Regions from separate parts of the Homo sapiens genome. Here regions 1, 2 and 3 are each linked to region 4. Evidence: promoter capture Hi-C in 16 types of primary human blood cells and fetal thymus (Javierre and others, 2016). All regions are on one chromosome and are shown on one strand. The core of a region is centred on a gene start or on the middle of the fragment in contact, and the rest is flanking DNA. Distances in the headings are between cores, read along the strand shown. Region 1 holds the start of TH2LCRR (T helper type 2 locus control region associated RNA). Region 2 holds the start of CCNI2 (cyclin I family member 2). Region 3 holds the start of IL4 (interleukin 4). Region 4 holds the start of SLC22A5 (solute carrier family 22 member 5).

Region 1 (2,794 bases), core at 16-2,515, 290 kb before region 4:
CAGCTTCCAGAGTGGCTGGAAGTAGTGTGCACGTGTCTGGCCCCTTTAATTTAAAGTGTATGGGCCATCCTTCTGGGAAACTCTTAACTGGGCCAGGCTGGCAGCCTTAGTCCAGGTCAGAGATTGTAAGTGTTCCTAGTGCCACTGGGGCTTGGGGTGATCCCCTTTGCTCACCAGTCTCTGCAGGATCAACCCCTGCCGTCTGGGGGCCTCAAATTTCCCTTCTGCAGAATGAGTGCTGTGGAGGGCGGCTCCTGGGCTTGGCCCCTGCAGCCATGTCGCCTTTTCCTGCTCTTCCCTCGTTTTCCTAGAAGTCCTCCAGAAACCCCCACAGCAGAGGCCACGGCATTTGCCTGTTGGGTGTTGATGTCAAGATTTCTCCCCTACCCACTTCCTCCCCGAACCAGCGCCTCCCCAGGCCCCCTCTCTGCCTGCTCAGGCTCCCTCCGTCCTGTCCTCGATGGGGCTCAACCTCCTCACAAGGGTGTGCTTGTGACCCTCCTCACAAGGCATGCTGGATTCCCGCTCAGAGGCATCCCAGGCTTGCCCACCCTCTCTTCCCACAGGGAACGTCATTCCCACCCTCTCTGTCCACACTCGAAGCTTCCCAGCCCAGCTGCTGGCTCTGACTCCCAGAAGTCTGCCCCTTCCCCTCGAGGGCCCCCAGTGCCTGGAGTGCCGCTACTTGGCCGTGTGACCCCTCTACGGGCCTGTTTCCTAATCTGTAGTAGAGGGCCCACGGCATCTCCCACAGGGTCTCCGTGATGGGGGAAGGAGCGGGGAACTACCTTGGTCTGTGCAACTCCCGGAGCCCCGCCCGGGTGAGTCAACGCCCCTTATCCCCCATGGCCACCAAAAGCCCTGCCGGGAGCGGTGGGCAGGGGCGCCCCCGCGCGTGGGAGAAGGCGCTGGCGCGGCGGTTGCGGCGGCGATGGCCCGCGGAGATAGGGGGGTGGCCTTATGTAACGGGAGATGGGCCCGATAAGCGGGATCTGCGCGGCCGGGCCCTCCTCCGCGGCCTCCGGCGGTGGCCGGTCCGGGAGGCAGGGGTGGGCGCGCAGACCGGCCAGTCTGGAAGCTGCGGAGGCTGGCGAGGGGGCGGCAAAGGTGGCGGTCCGAGCGCCAGGCAGGGCAAGGGCCGGCTGGACACCCGGGCCAGCGGCTCCCCGAGCGCCGGTGCGCACCGGCGAGGGGCGGGAGCGGCCGAGGGGCCGAGGCGCGCACGTGCCGCTCCAGCACCGGCCATGTCAGGCCGAGGGACCCCGCGGGCCCGGCCGAGCGGCAGCCCCTGCCCTGGAGGGTGGTCTCCAGGGACCAAGGCGTGGCGGGCGGTGCGGAGAGGCGCGGCACAGATGGCTACATCAGAGGGTCTGTTGCTTGTTTCTAGATTGTCAGCGGGGATCCACTCCCGTGCGGGTAATTTTAATTAACACTAACTACCAAAGGGCCGCTCCGGGCACTTGGCGCATGTGGCTCGCACCTGCCTGCAATGCGCTGCGTGGGCCGCCCGCTTATGGCCATGGGGAGCCTCTTCGCTTTGCTCTGGCCCCGAAGCGCTGGGATTGGGACCTCCCTTCCTCCCGACCAGCTCATCCTGGGAAAGCTGGGGTTGCTTTTTCGGGTTTCTCTGGACTCTGGGTCTCCGTTGGCAAAGACATGATGCCCAGTCAGGAGGAGTAAGGCCTGAGAGAGTTGTTTTTGTAAGTGAAAGGATTTAATTTTTTAGATTTTTATTTTTAGGAAAGTTACGAATGCAGATAATTTTAAAAATCAAGAAGGCTGATTATGTAAAACGGCAGCGCTGGGAATCCGTGCTCTATGGGCCTCTGGCATTGCTGCTCCTCTTGTGAGTGAGGCACTTACTGCCCTGCTGTGTCCCTTACTGTCTTTTAAAGGTTGTTTATAGGCCGGGCGCGGTGGCTCACGCCTGTAATCCCAGCACTTTGGGAGGCCGAGATGGGCGGATCACGAGGTCAGGAGATTGAGACCATCCTGGCTAACACGGTGAAACCCCGTCTCTACTAAAAATACAAAAAAATTAGCCGGGCGTGGTGGTGGGCGCCTGTAGTCCCAGCTACCCAGGAGGCTGAGGCAGGAGAATGGCGTGAACCCGGGAGGCGGAGCTTGCAGTGAGCCGAAATCGCGCCACTGCACTTAAGCCTGGGCGACAGTGTGAGACTCCGTCTTAAAAAAAAAAAAAAAAAAAAAAAAAGGTTGTTAAGAAAATCACAAGGAAGGAGGAAAAAATATATTTCCTATTCATTAAGTGGAGGTGGAACATCACAAAGGTCTTCAGCGTCACTGTCTTCACGTTGAGCAGGCCGAGGAGGAAGAAGAGGAGGGGTCGGTCTTGTCATCTCAGGGGTGGCAGAGGCAGGAGAGAATCCGTGGATAAGTGGATCTGTGCAGTTCAGAACCTGCTGTTCAAGGGTCAACTGTGTATGTAAAAAATTCAGTGGAATCTCCACCTTCCCTCACAAGTAACTATTTTTCTTAGGTGTTGTTTTTTTTTTTTTTTGGTATCCTATTAGTTTATGTAAATACAAGCAACTGTGAATATATGGTCTTATTTTCCCTTGTCCCTACATGTGAAGTGGCATCATATACACCTTTTGCACCCTGTTTTTCTCACTTACTATAAAAATAATATATTTTTGTATTCACACTTAGATTGGGACATTTTATGACTTTTCTTCTTTGTTCTCTCTTATTGGAACTGCCATTTTTTTTGACTATATACCTCTTGGACTTGTCCTTTAATTTTCTTTTTATTCTATTTTCCATTTAAAAAATT
Region 2 (3,085 bases), core at 219-2,718, 380 kb before region 4:
ATCTGACCAACGAAGATGCTCCTGATTTCAGAACTGCAGATGACTGGGCAGTATTCCTTCATTTCGGGACTGACTGGAGGTGGGAAATATGGCACCTTCTCAGGGAACCCAGTCTCATCCTAGCCTCAAGCTGCCCTCGACAGGTCGAGACAAGCACATCCTACCTCATTACACAGGAAGCCCTTTCCCAGCTAGGTCCTCTCACGCTCCCCAAGTCCAATCCTGATGACTACATGACCCTGAGACAGCCAGTGTAGGATGTGGAGAGGTTCCAACACCAGCTCTTCCACTCGGAGCAAGTTAGTTTATACACCTTGGTTTTGAGCATCTGGAAACCCTCACCTCTCAAGCAGGAATGGGGAGCAAAGGTTAGTTTCTTCTCTCACCATCTGCCACCGTCCCTCAGAGGCCTCCCTACCTTCACTGAAATCAGGAGGCGGCCAAAGATGGTGAGGGCCAGGTTAAAAGTGGACTGGGAGAAGTAAAAGGTGTTCTGAAGCCGCAGGAGCCACAGCACGACTTCCTCGAAGGCGTCGCAGATTTCATCCTGCTAGGAAGAAGAGCAGGTGGGGCGAGGAAGGTCGCTAGCGGCCACTCCTGGTCCCCCAGCAGCAGGAGCCTCCTGCTTAAGGTGCGGGGGGTGGGGCAGTGAGAAGTCCCTTCCTCTGCATGCCCGCTGGGAGTAAGCGCCCCCCGGCGCAGCGGCTCACCCATCACCCCCACCCCTCGCGCCCACTTTTCGTCGTAGGCTGAGTTCCTTGATTCAAACAGGCCCTCTTCCGAAGGCCCTGCTAGCAAGACGCCCTCCTAGAGAGAAGCTGGTGGATCCAGCCTCGTGCCTCTCGTGAGGGGCCACACCTGGGGAAGGGCCCGGCCTCCAGTTTCAGAACACCCGAGCGCGGGTGCAGGTGGAGGCCACATCCGCCTGCCGTGCACGCGCGAGGAGGGCCACGCGGCAGCGACGGGTACCTGGGGTTTGCCGCCCCGCCACAGGCGCGCCTCGCGGTCCTGGGCCAGCTGCAAGTGGCAGAGCAGCCGGCGCTCGTCCAGGTCGCCTTCCAGGTTGCGCGGCTTGCGGGACTGTGGAGCCGGCCGCGGAGCTTGCTCTGGGGCGGCGGCGGGGACCGCGTCTGCGGTTTTCCCGGCTGGCGCCGTACCGCGCCGGGGCCGCACGGGGACTGCTGCGGACGCCGCGTGGAGGGAGGCCGCTCCGGGCTGGCGGGTCCCAGGGCACCTGCTCCGGTTGCTTCGGGGCAGAGGGGCCTCCCCCGGAGACGGCGGGAGAGGAACGCCCAGGGCTGTTTCCTCCAGACCGGCGCCGGGACGCCCGCCTGGGCTCTGGACGGCGCTGACCTCTGAGCTCGACGGCTGCGGCGGGAGCTGAGCGCCCGAGGCCATGTCGTGAGCGGGATCCTGAGTCTGAGTTGCCGCTTAACCCGGCATTTTATAACCCAGCTCCCGGAACACTGCAGCCTGGGGCGCCGCCGGGGGAGGTGGGGAGGCGGGCTCGGCGGGCCCCACCCACAACGCTCGCGGTGGAGCTACCTCTGGCGCACCGGGCCGCGCCTCGCCTCCTGGGCACTCGCCCCGCGGGTGGGCGGCGCGCACCCAGGATGCGGCAGGACTGGGCGCGCACAGGCGGGTGGCGGACCCCCTCCCTTCCCTCCATCCCCGCTGCTGCCTAGCGCACGCCTCCTCCCCCCTGCCGGCCGTGCTCCCTGAGCAGAGCCCCCAGCCAGGGGTGGGGCGGCTGGAGACTGCGCCCGCCTTGGGCCAGGACTCCCGGACACAGACCCTGGGTCTTACCTCACATTACACACTTGGGGACACAAGACCAGGTAAAGAAGCAGCGAGAGCGCCCTCCTCAGACAGGCTTGAAATGGAATTCCAGACGCGCTGTGTGATCTCATGCATGTGTCGTGACCTCTCAGAGCCTTGGCTACCTCTTCTCCGAAAAAAAAAGTGATAATACCTCCCTCACAAGGTGATTCATTCATATACATATATGTTTATGTATCTATACATACATATATAGCTATAAACGTATAATAAGGAAAATCATACAAATCATATATATGTATACACATACATACATAAATTTTAGGGGTGGATCTTGCTATGTTGCCCAAGCTGGAGTGCAGTGGCTATTCTCAGGTGTGATCGCAGCACACTACAACCTCAAACTCCTGGACTCAAGCTACCCTCAACCTCAGCTTCTCAAGTAGCTGAGACTTACAGGTGCACACCACCACACCTGGCTCCTAAGTTATATTTTGTTTAAAAAATTCATTACATTAAATGTATATTAAAAATATATGGGAATACCAGAAGGACAAGAAAGAGAGGAACAGAAGAAATATTTGAAACAATAACGACTGAGAATGAATATTTCCAAATTAATGCCAAACACCAAACCACAATTCTAGGAAGCTCTGAGAACATTAAGCAAGATAAATGCCAAGAACTACACCTAGACATTCCTATTTAAACCGTAGAAAATCAAAAGAAACTATCAACAGAGTCAGCAGACAACCTATAGAGTGGGAGAAAAGTATTAGCAAAGTAAGCATTCGACAAAGGTCTTAATATCCAGAATCTGTAAGGAATTTAATTAAACAAGCAAAAAACAACCCCATCAAAAAACAGGCAAAAAGACATGAATAGACTTCTCAAAGGGAGATATACAAGTGGTCAACAAACATGAAAAAATGCTCCACATCACTAATCATCAGAGTAATGCATCTCACACCAATCAGAATGGCTACTATTAAAAAGTCAAAAACCAACAGACGCTGGTGAGGCTGCAGGGAAAAGGGAATGCTTATACACTGCTGGTGGTAATGTAAATTAGTTCAGTCACTGTTGAAAGCAGTTTAGAGATTTCTCAAACAACTTAAAACAGTACTATTCAACCCAGCAGTCCCTTTACTGGGTATATACGCAAAAGGAAAATAAATTGTTCTACCATAAAGACACATACATTTGCATGTTCATCACAGTACTAGTCACAGTAGCAAAGACATGGAGTCAACCTAGGTGCCCTTCAGTGATCGACTGGATAAAGAAAATGTGGTACATATACAAT
Region 3 (2,895 bases), core at 21-2,520, 300 kb before region 4:
ACAAAACTATTGATACGGCTGTAGTCATGTGTTTGTCAGAGAAAATGCACTATCAGCTGTCAAATCTATCTCCTCCCACTACAGATAGAGGGGTGGGGGTGAGGCAGCACAGGAGGCAGAGAGGCGAGGTGCCCAGGCAGCCCGAAGCAGGGATGTGCTGGACGCTGCCCAGCAGGATGGTTCCAGACCGAGCTGGAGGGGAGTTCGGCCGGCCAGAGCAAGCTGAGGAGCTCTGGACGGCCAGCCCCGGAACCCAGAGGGCTGTTAGGTGGCCAGGCTGTGGAAGAGGAGGGGCTCTGGCGATACCTTTTCTGTTGCCATAGGAAGTCTCTTAGACAAAATGAAAGCTCCCTCAACCTGTCATCTCAATATCTGTTTCTGTGAGAGTATTTGGTTTTTCAGAAATGTATGGGCCAGAAAAATTCTCTCATTCAACAGGCATTTATTGAGTGCCTCCTACGTTCCAGGCACTATGCCAAAGCTAAGTAAAACCCAAGAGGGCTTTTCTTTGACCAGGATCTGAGTCAGGACTACAGCATGTAAGCTTTCTATTACATGTCTTCTAAATCAAGTGAAACCAGAAAGACCAAAACATGCTTAAGAGTAAAGATCAGACTTCTCGTTCTTTGAAAACATCTAACACCTTAGAGTTAATTTGGGCCCGCTCGTTTTCCATTAGACAAGTTTCTTGTTCAGACATTTGGGGATGGATCTCCCCATTTGCTAAAACAGACCGTGGGACGGCTTCTTACCTTGGAGGCAGCAAAGATGTCTGTTACGGTCAACTCGGTGCACAGAGTCTTGGTCCAGGCAGAAATGAGAGAGCAAGAGACAGAGTTAACCTCCAACCGGACAGAGAAGTCCTTGATGAGCAGCTCTCACTCCCTCCAACTGAGGAAACTTCCTACAAACCCTCAGAAAAAAGAGTGGCAGGGGAGAAGCCTCGCTGTGTGCCCTGGACTGCCACCAACCACCAGTTCCAACTTCTCTAGCAGCTGTTAACGTTTTCATGCCTAGAAATACTGAGAGCATCACCAGAACATCTGGAGAGATGGTGCCAGATAGGTACTCACCTTCTGCTCTGTGAGGCTGTTCAAAGTTTTGATGATCTCCTGTAAGGTGATATCGCACTTGTGTCCGTGGACAAAGTTGCCGGCACATGCTAGCAGGAAGAACAGAGGGGGAAGCAGTTGGGAGGTGAGACCCATTAATAGGTGTCGATTTGCAGTGACAATGTGAGGCAATTAGTTTATCAGGAGAAGCTAACGATGCAATGCTGACAAAGATATCTCTATATATAGATTTAAAATTGCTGAAACCGAGGGAAAATGAGTTTACATTGGAAATTTTCGTTACACCAGATTGTCAGTCACTTGGGGCCAATCAGCACCTCTCTTCCAGGAGAAAAAATGCCTCACAAACAGGTAAAATGTTCCTGTGAAATCAGACCAATAGGAAAATGAAACCTTTTTAAAAAATTAACTACAAAGTTTCAGCATAGGAAATTACACCATAATTTGCTCTTTAGATTAATCTTATCAGCTTGGGGCTGCTGCTGGCTTTTTGCTTTGCATAGAAGGGAGAGGCCACAGGTGTCCGAATTTGTTGTAATGCAGTCCTCCTGGGGAAAGATAGAGTAATATCAAGAAAGTTTTACTTGAAAAGTATTTTAACCTGGCTTCTTCCAAGTACAGGTGGCATCTTGGAAACTGTCCTGTCATGGAAAAGCTGATCTGGGGCTCCTTCTCTGCATAGAGGCAGAATAACAGGCAGACTCTCCTACCCCAGCACTGGGGGACAATGTTCTCCCAAGTTTAGGTGTTTTGAGAAGGACAGGTCGTATCAGGTGAGGCCTAGTTTGGGTCCCAGCAGGTCCATAAGGTCCTTACCCATAAGGAAGCCCTTGGCAAGGTAGGTCTATTCTGAGGTTTCAGGAATGACTTTTTTTTTTTTTTTTCTGAGACAGGGTCTCACTCTGTCACCCAGGCTGAAATGCAATGTTGTGATCAGGGATCACTGCAGCCTCAACCTCCCAGGCTCAAGTGATCCTCCCACCTCAGCCCCCCTAGCAGTAGGTGCGTGCCACCGCACCATGCCTGGCTCATTTTTATTTTTATTTTTTGATAGAGATAAGAGTCTCACTATGTTGCCTAGGCTCATCTCAAATTCCTGGGCTCAAGTGATCCTCCTACCTCAGTCTCCCAAAGCTCTGAGATTACAGGTGTGAGCCACCATGCCTGGCCAGGAATGCCCACTTTTTGAATGGAACCTAAACACATCCTCAGCTAATTAGGAAAAAGAGCTACAGTCTTACCAACTTACAAATCAGCCCTCCTAGTCAGTGCCCCACCACCCGCCCTGCTTGTTTTTTATTGAATTCATGTGGACACAATAAGGTGCTCATTGCCTCACCCCAGCAGTGAACGTAAGGACCCCACCACTCACTCAGGTGCCTGGGCCCTGTGCAAGGCCACCCCACCTCCCAGTAAGGGCTCATGGGCAGCAGGATTCTTGGGCCCTGCCTGCCCCCTGCTTTTCTCCCAGAACCTTCCCTTCCCTTGGTCTCTGACCTTCTTTTCCCTATGAATTTCTTTTTTTTTTTTTTTTTTTTGAGATGGAATCTTGCTCTGTCACCCAGGCTGGAGTGCAGTGGCGTGATCTTAGTTCACTGCAAGCTCCGCCTCCTGGGTTCATGCCGTTCTCCTGCCTCAGCCTCCCCGAGTAGCTGGGACTACAGGCACCTGCCACCACGCCCGGCTAATTTTTTGTATTTTTAGTAGAGACGGGGTTTCACCGTGTTAGCCAGGATGGTCTCCATCTCCTGACCTCGTGATCCGCCTGCCTCGGCCTCCCAAAGTGCTGGGATTACAGGCGTGAGCCACTGTGCCTGGGCCT
Region 4 (3,154 bases), core at 373-2,872:
AATATTCCAGGTCAACAAGTCACCCTGAACCCATCTTCAGATGAATGGATCTTAAAGAGTGACAACTGACGGCCTGGCGTGGTGGCTCACGGTTGTAATCCCAGCTTTGGAGGCAGAAGCAGGCAGATCACGAGGTCAAGAGATCGAGACCATCCTGGCCAACACGGTGAAACCCCGTCTCTACTAAAAACACAAAAATTAGCTGGGCGTCGTGGCTCACAGCTACTCGGAGACTGAGGCAGGAGAATCACTTGAGCCCGGAAGGCGAAGATTGCAGTGAGCCAAGAACGCACGACTGCGAAGGTTGCAGTGAGCCAAGAACACACGACTGCGCTCCAGCCTGGTGACAGAGGGAGACTCTGTCTCAAAAAAAAAAAAGACTGACAACTGACCATGGGAAAAGGCAAACAATTACTTACAGGGCATGACCAGATTGTCGTTTTTGGGTTGTGGACGGTAGGGGAAGGAGTAACTAGAGGAAAAAGGGAAGAGGCAGTTGTATACACATGCTTTATTTAACTTTTAAAAGTTCAGGAAAGAGAAGTATTTCTTCTCTTCTAAAAAGAAATCAAGAGACTAGAGGAAAAACGGGATAGCCCCTGGCCCAAGTCCTGGCTCTGCTACTTACCACCCCCAACCCCAACTAGAGTAAGTCCTGGACACACAGGGCCATAGAGCATCGCCCAGGGACCGCCAGGACCTTCCTGGTACCCTCTTCAAAGTGGCCATCAGGACGGGAGGCCAGACTGACCACCTGTGCAGGGAGGAGCACACTGTGGCTGGAGGTCACCTCGTGAAGCGTTCCCAAGCCACCTGGCTGGAGGGTCTCCATCGCTAGGGTGTTGACCGTTGGGGGAGGGGGAGTGACAGCGTCCAGTGCGCATCTGGGAGAGAGGAGCTCGGGTTCAAGGACCGCGACAGGTCCTCCGAGCCCTGGTCTCAGCCCCAGCAGGGGCCGGCACCCACCTCGGTCACAATGGTGGACAGGTAGACGTCCTGACTGAACTCCCAGCCATCCAGACAGCTCTCCTGCTCCAGCTGCCCCAGGTCCACGTCGCGCCCCGGCTCCAGCCCAAGCGCCGAGAAGTTGGCGATGGTGGCGAGCCGGTAGCGGCGGCAGCTGTGGGGCACCTCGCGGCCGTCCCGCAGCCGCAGTGGGACAGTGTGGTTGCGCCAGGCGCTGCTCAGGTTCGCGGCGTCCGGCACCCGGCAGCGGTGCTCCGGGGTCGCTATCAGGAACACGGAGGACAGGCCGGTGAAGCCATTGGGGATGATGCTGGCGCTGAGCAGGAAGAAGATGAGGCGCTGGAAGGGCCCCCACTCGCCCAGGAAGGCGGTCACCTCGTCGTAGTCCCGCATGCCGCCCTCAGAGGCCCACAGAGCGCGGCCTGGGGTCGGGGAACGCGGCGGGCTTTGCGCGTGCGCGCGGGGCACCCGCCGCCGACCAGGCAAGCCAGGCAGCAGGCGACCCAAGACCGTCCGCGGAGGGTAGGCTCGCGAGCTGACACCGCCGCCTTGGTCCTGCCGCGGCTGGCCTTACATAGGGCGCACGACCAGGGAAGGTTGCGGGCCTGGGCCGCAAGGCGCGCCCCGCTGGCAGGCAGAGCGGCGCCGGCGAAGGCGGAGCTGGGGCGGGACGCGAGGGCGCGGGGCGGGCCGGGAGTGCACCTGAGGCCCGGGCGGGGCCTGTCCTGGGGACCTGGCGAGGCCCGGCCTCTGCCAGCCAAGCCTGCTGGGGACGACCGAGGTAGCCCGGGCTCGGCTTAGGAAGGCAGCGGGACTCGAGGCCTTGGGGTCCGAGTCCGAACTCGCTCCTCTAGCGCCGGGCGGGGAGCGAGTGGGAGAGCGGCCGCGAAGCTCCAGTGTTGAAAACGCACCCCTCCCAGCTTTTTGCAAGGCCTACTTGGGGGCGGAGGTAAGGAGAAAGTCACTGGCCCAGGGTCTCACAGATAGTTGCTCTTGACACCGCCTAATCTTATAAGAGGGACGGGGATTATTTTGAACCTGGGACTGTTAACTACCCTAGTAGAGAGGCTGGGAGCTATGACTTTTCATTCTAGTCCAGATGCCCTTTCCACATTTTCGTCTGTAACAAGCCATTTTGTTCATGCAGATGTAAAAATTTAACTTCACGATTAACGATCCTAGCCTAGGGTTAAATATTCCCCACAGATTAGTTATTTCCGTGCAGAGTTTATTCAGAAGCTAACTGGAAAAAAAAAAAAAGCAGCGAGGTGATTCTAAAGCAGCAATGTTCCATAGGATAAGGAGCTACATTTGTTATGTTAACTTTTCTAGTAGCCATATTAATAAAATTGCCAGATTTAGCAAATAAAAATATAGGACTCCTAGTTAAATTTGAATTTCAGATATAGAATGAATAATTTTTAAATATTATGTCCCAAGCAGGAATATATAAAATAAAAATGTAACTGGTTGTCCTGTATTTTATTGGGCAATGCTGCATATTTAAAAAGTAAAAATAAAAGATGAAATTAACTTTAATGGTATATTTAATCAAGTATATCCAGAACATGATCATTTCATCATATAATCAATATAGAAATTATTGATATTTTACATTGTTATATGTAAATCATTGATCTTTTTTTCCCCTCCTCATACTAAATCTTAAGAATTCAGTGTGTTTCACAGGTTCTCAGGATTTGAAAAAAAAAAAAAAAGGAATCCAGTGTGTATTTTACAGCACATTTCAATTTGGACTAGCCACACTTTTTATTTTTTAATATTTATTTATTCATTTATTTATTGGAGACACGGTCCCACTGTGTCACCCAGGCTAGAGTGCAGTGGCACAATCATAGCTCACCGCAGCCCTGAACTCCTAAGCTTAAGTGGGCCTCCTGCCTCAGCCTGCTGAGTAGCTAGGACTACAGGCACATGCCACCGTGCCCAGCTAATTTTTTTATTTTTTTTATTTTACAGAGACAAGGCATCCCTGTGTTGCCCAGGCTGGTCTCAGACTCCTGGGTTTAAGCAATCCTCCCACCTCAGCCTCCCAAAATGCTGAATTACAGACGTGAGCCACTATGCCTGGCCAGACTCATTTTTTAAGTGCTCAGTAGCCACATGTAGCTATTGGTTATCTTATTGGACAGCACCATTCCTAAGGCCTTTAAGAATTTGGGCTGCT

The links. The method cuts DNA at HindIII sites, captures the fragments that hold promoters and counts their contacts. A CHiCAGO score of 5 or more calls a contact.
Region 1: the fragment with the promoter of TH2LCRR here is called in contact with the fragment with the promoter of SLC22A5 in region 4 in 2 of 17 cell types (non-activated CD4 T cells and fetal thymus); the score reaches 6.1 in non-activated CD4 T cells.
Region 2: the fragment with the promoter of CCNI2 here is called in contact with the fragment with the promoter of SLC22A5 in region 4 in 8 of 17 cell types (monocytes, naive CD8 T cells, activated CD4 T cells and 5 more); the score reaches 10.9 in monocytes.
Region 3: the fragment with the promoter of IL4 here is called in contact with the fragment with the promoter of SLC22A5 in region 4 in 10 of 17 cell types (naive CD8 T cells, monocytes, total CD8 T cells and 7 more); the score reaches 7.6 in naive CD8 T cells.

The regions. Positions count from the first base shown.
Region 1 is chr5:132,654,625-132,657,418 of GRCh38, reverse strand. It overlaps TH2LCRR (T helper type 2 locus control region associated RNA), which reads left to right and starts at 1,265. Exons shown (of 3, transcript NR_132125.1): 1 at 1,265-1,368. It also overlaps a transcript of IL13 not described here. RefSeq lists silencers at 462-521, 602-691, 752-1,041. The HindIII fragment of the contact is 15,561 bases long and covers 606-2,794 here.
Region 2 is chr5:132,745,809-132,748,893 of GRCh38, reverse strand. CCNI2 (cyclin I family member 2) reads right to left here and starts at 1,468. Exons shown (of 6, transcript NM_001039780.4): 1 at 970-1,468; 2 at 419-547. The coding sequence starts at 1,398. RefSeq lists silencers at 1,106-1,295, 1,316-1,385, 1,396-1,815 and an enhancer at 1,906-1,985. The HindIII fragment of the contact is 9,894 bases long and covers 1-3,085 here.
Region 3 is chr5:132,672,364-132,675,258 of GRCh38, reverse strand. It overlaps IL4 (interleukin 4), which reads right to left and starts at 1,270. Exons shown (of 4, transcript NM_000589.4): 1 at 1,074-1,270; 2 at 753-800. The coding sequence starts at 1,208. The HindIII fragment of the contact is 7,466 bases long and covers 547-2,895 here.
Region 4 is chr5:132,368,178-132,371,331 of GRCh38, reverse strand. SLC22A5 (solute carrier family 22 member 5) reads right to left here and starts at 1,622. Exons shown (of 10, transcript NM_003060.4): 1 at 967-1,622. The coding sequence starts at 1,359. It overlaps MIR3936HG (MIR3936 host gene), which reads left to right and starts at 1,416. Exons shown (of 8, transcript NR_110997.1): 1 at 1,416-1,488. RefSeq lists a silencer at 1,420-1,739. The HindIII fragment of the contact is 8,292 bases long and covers 1-2,852 here.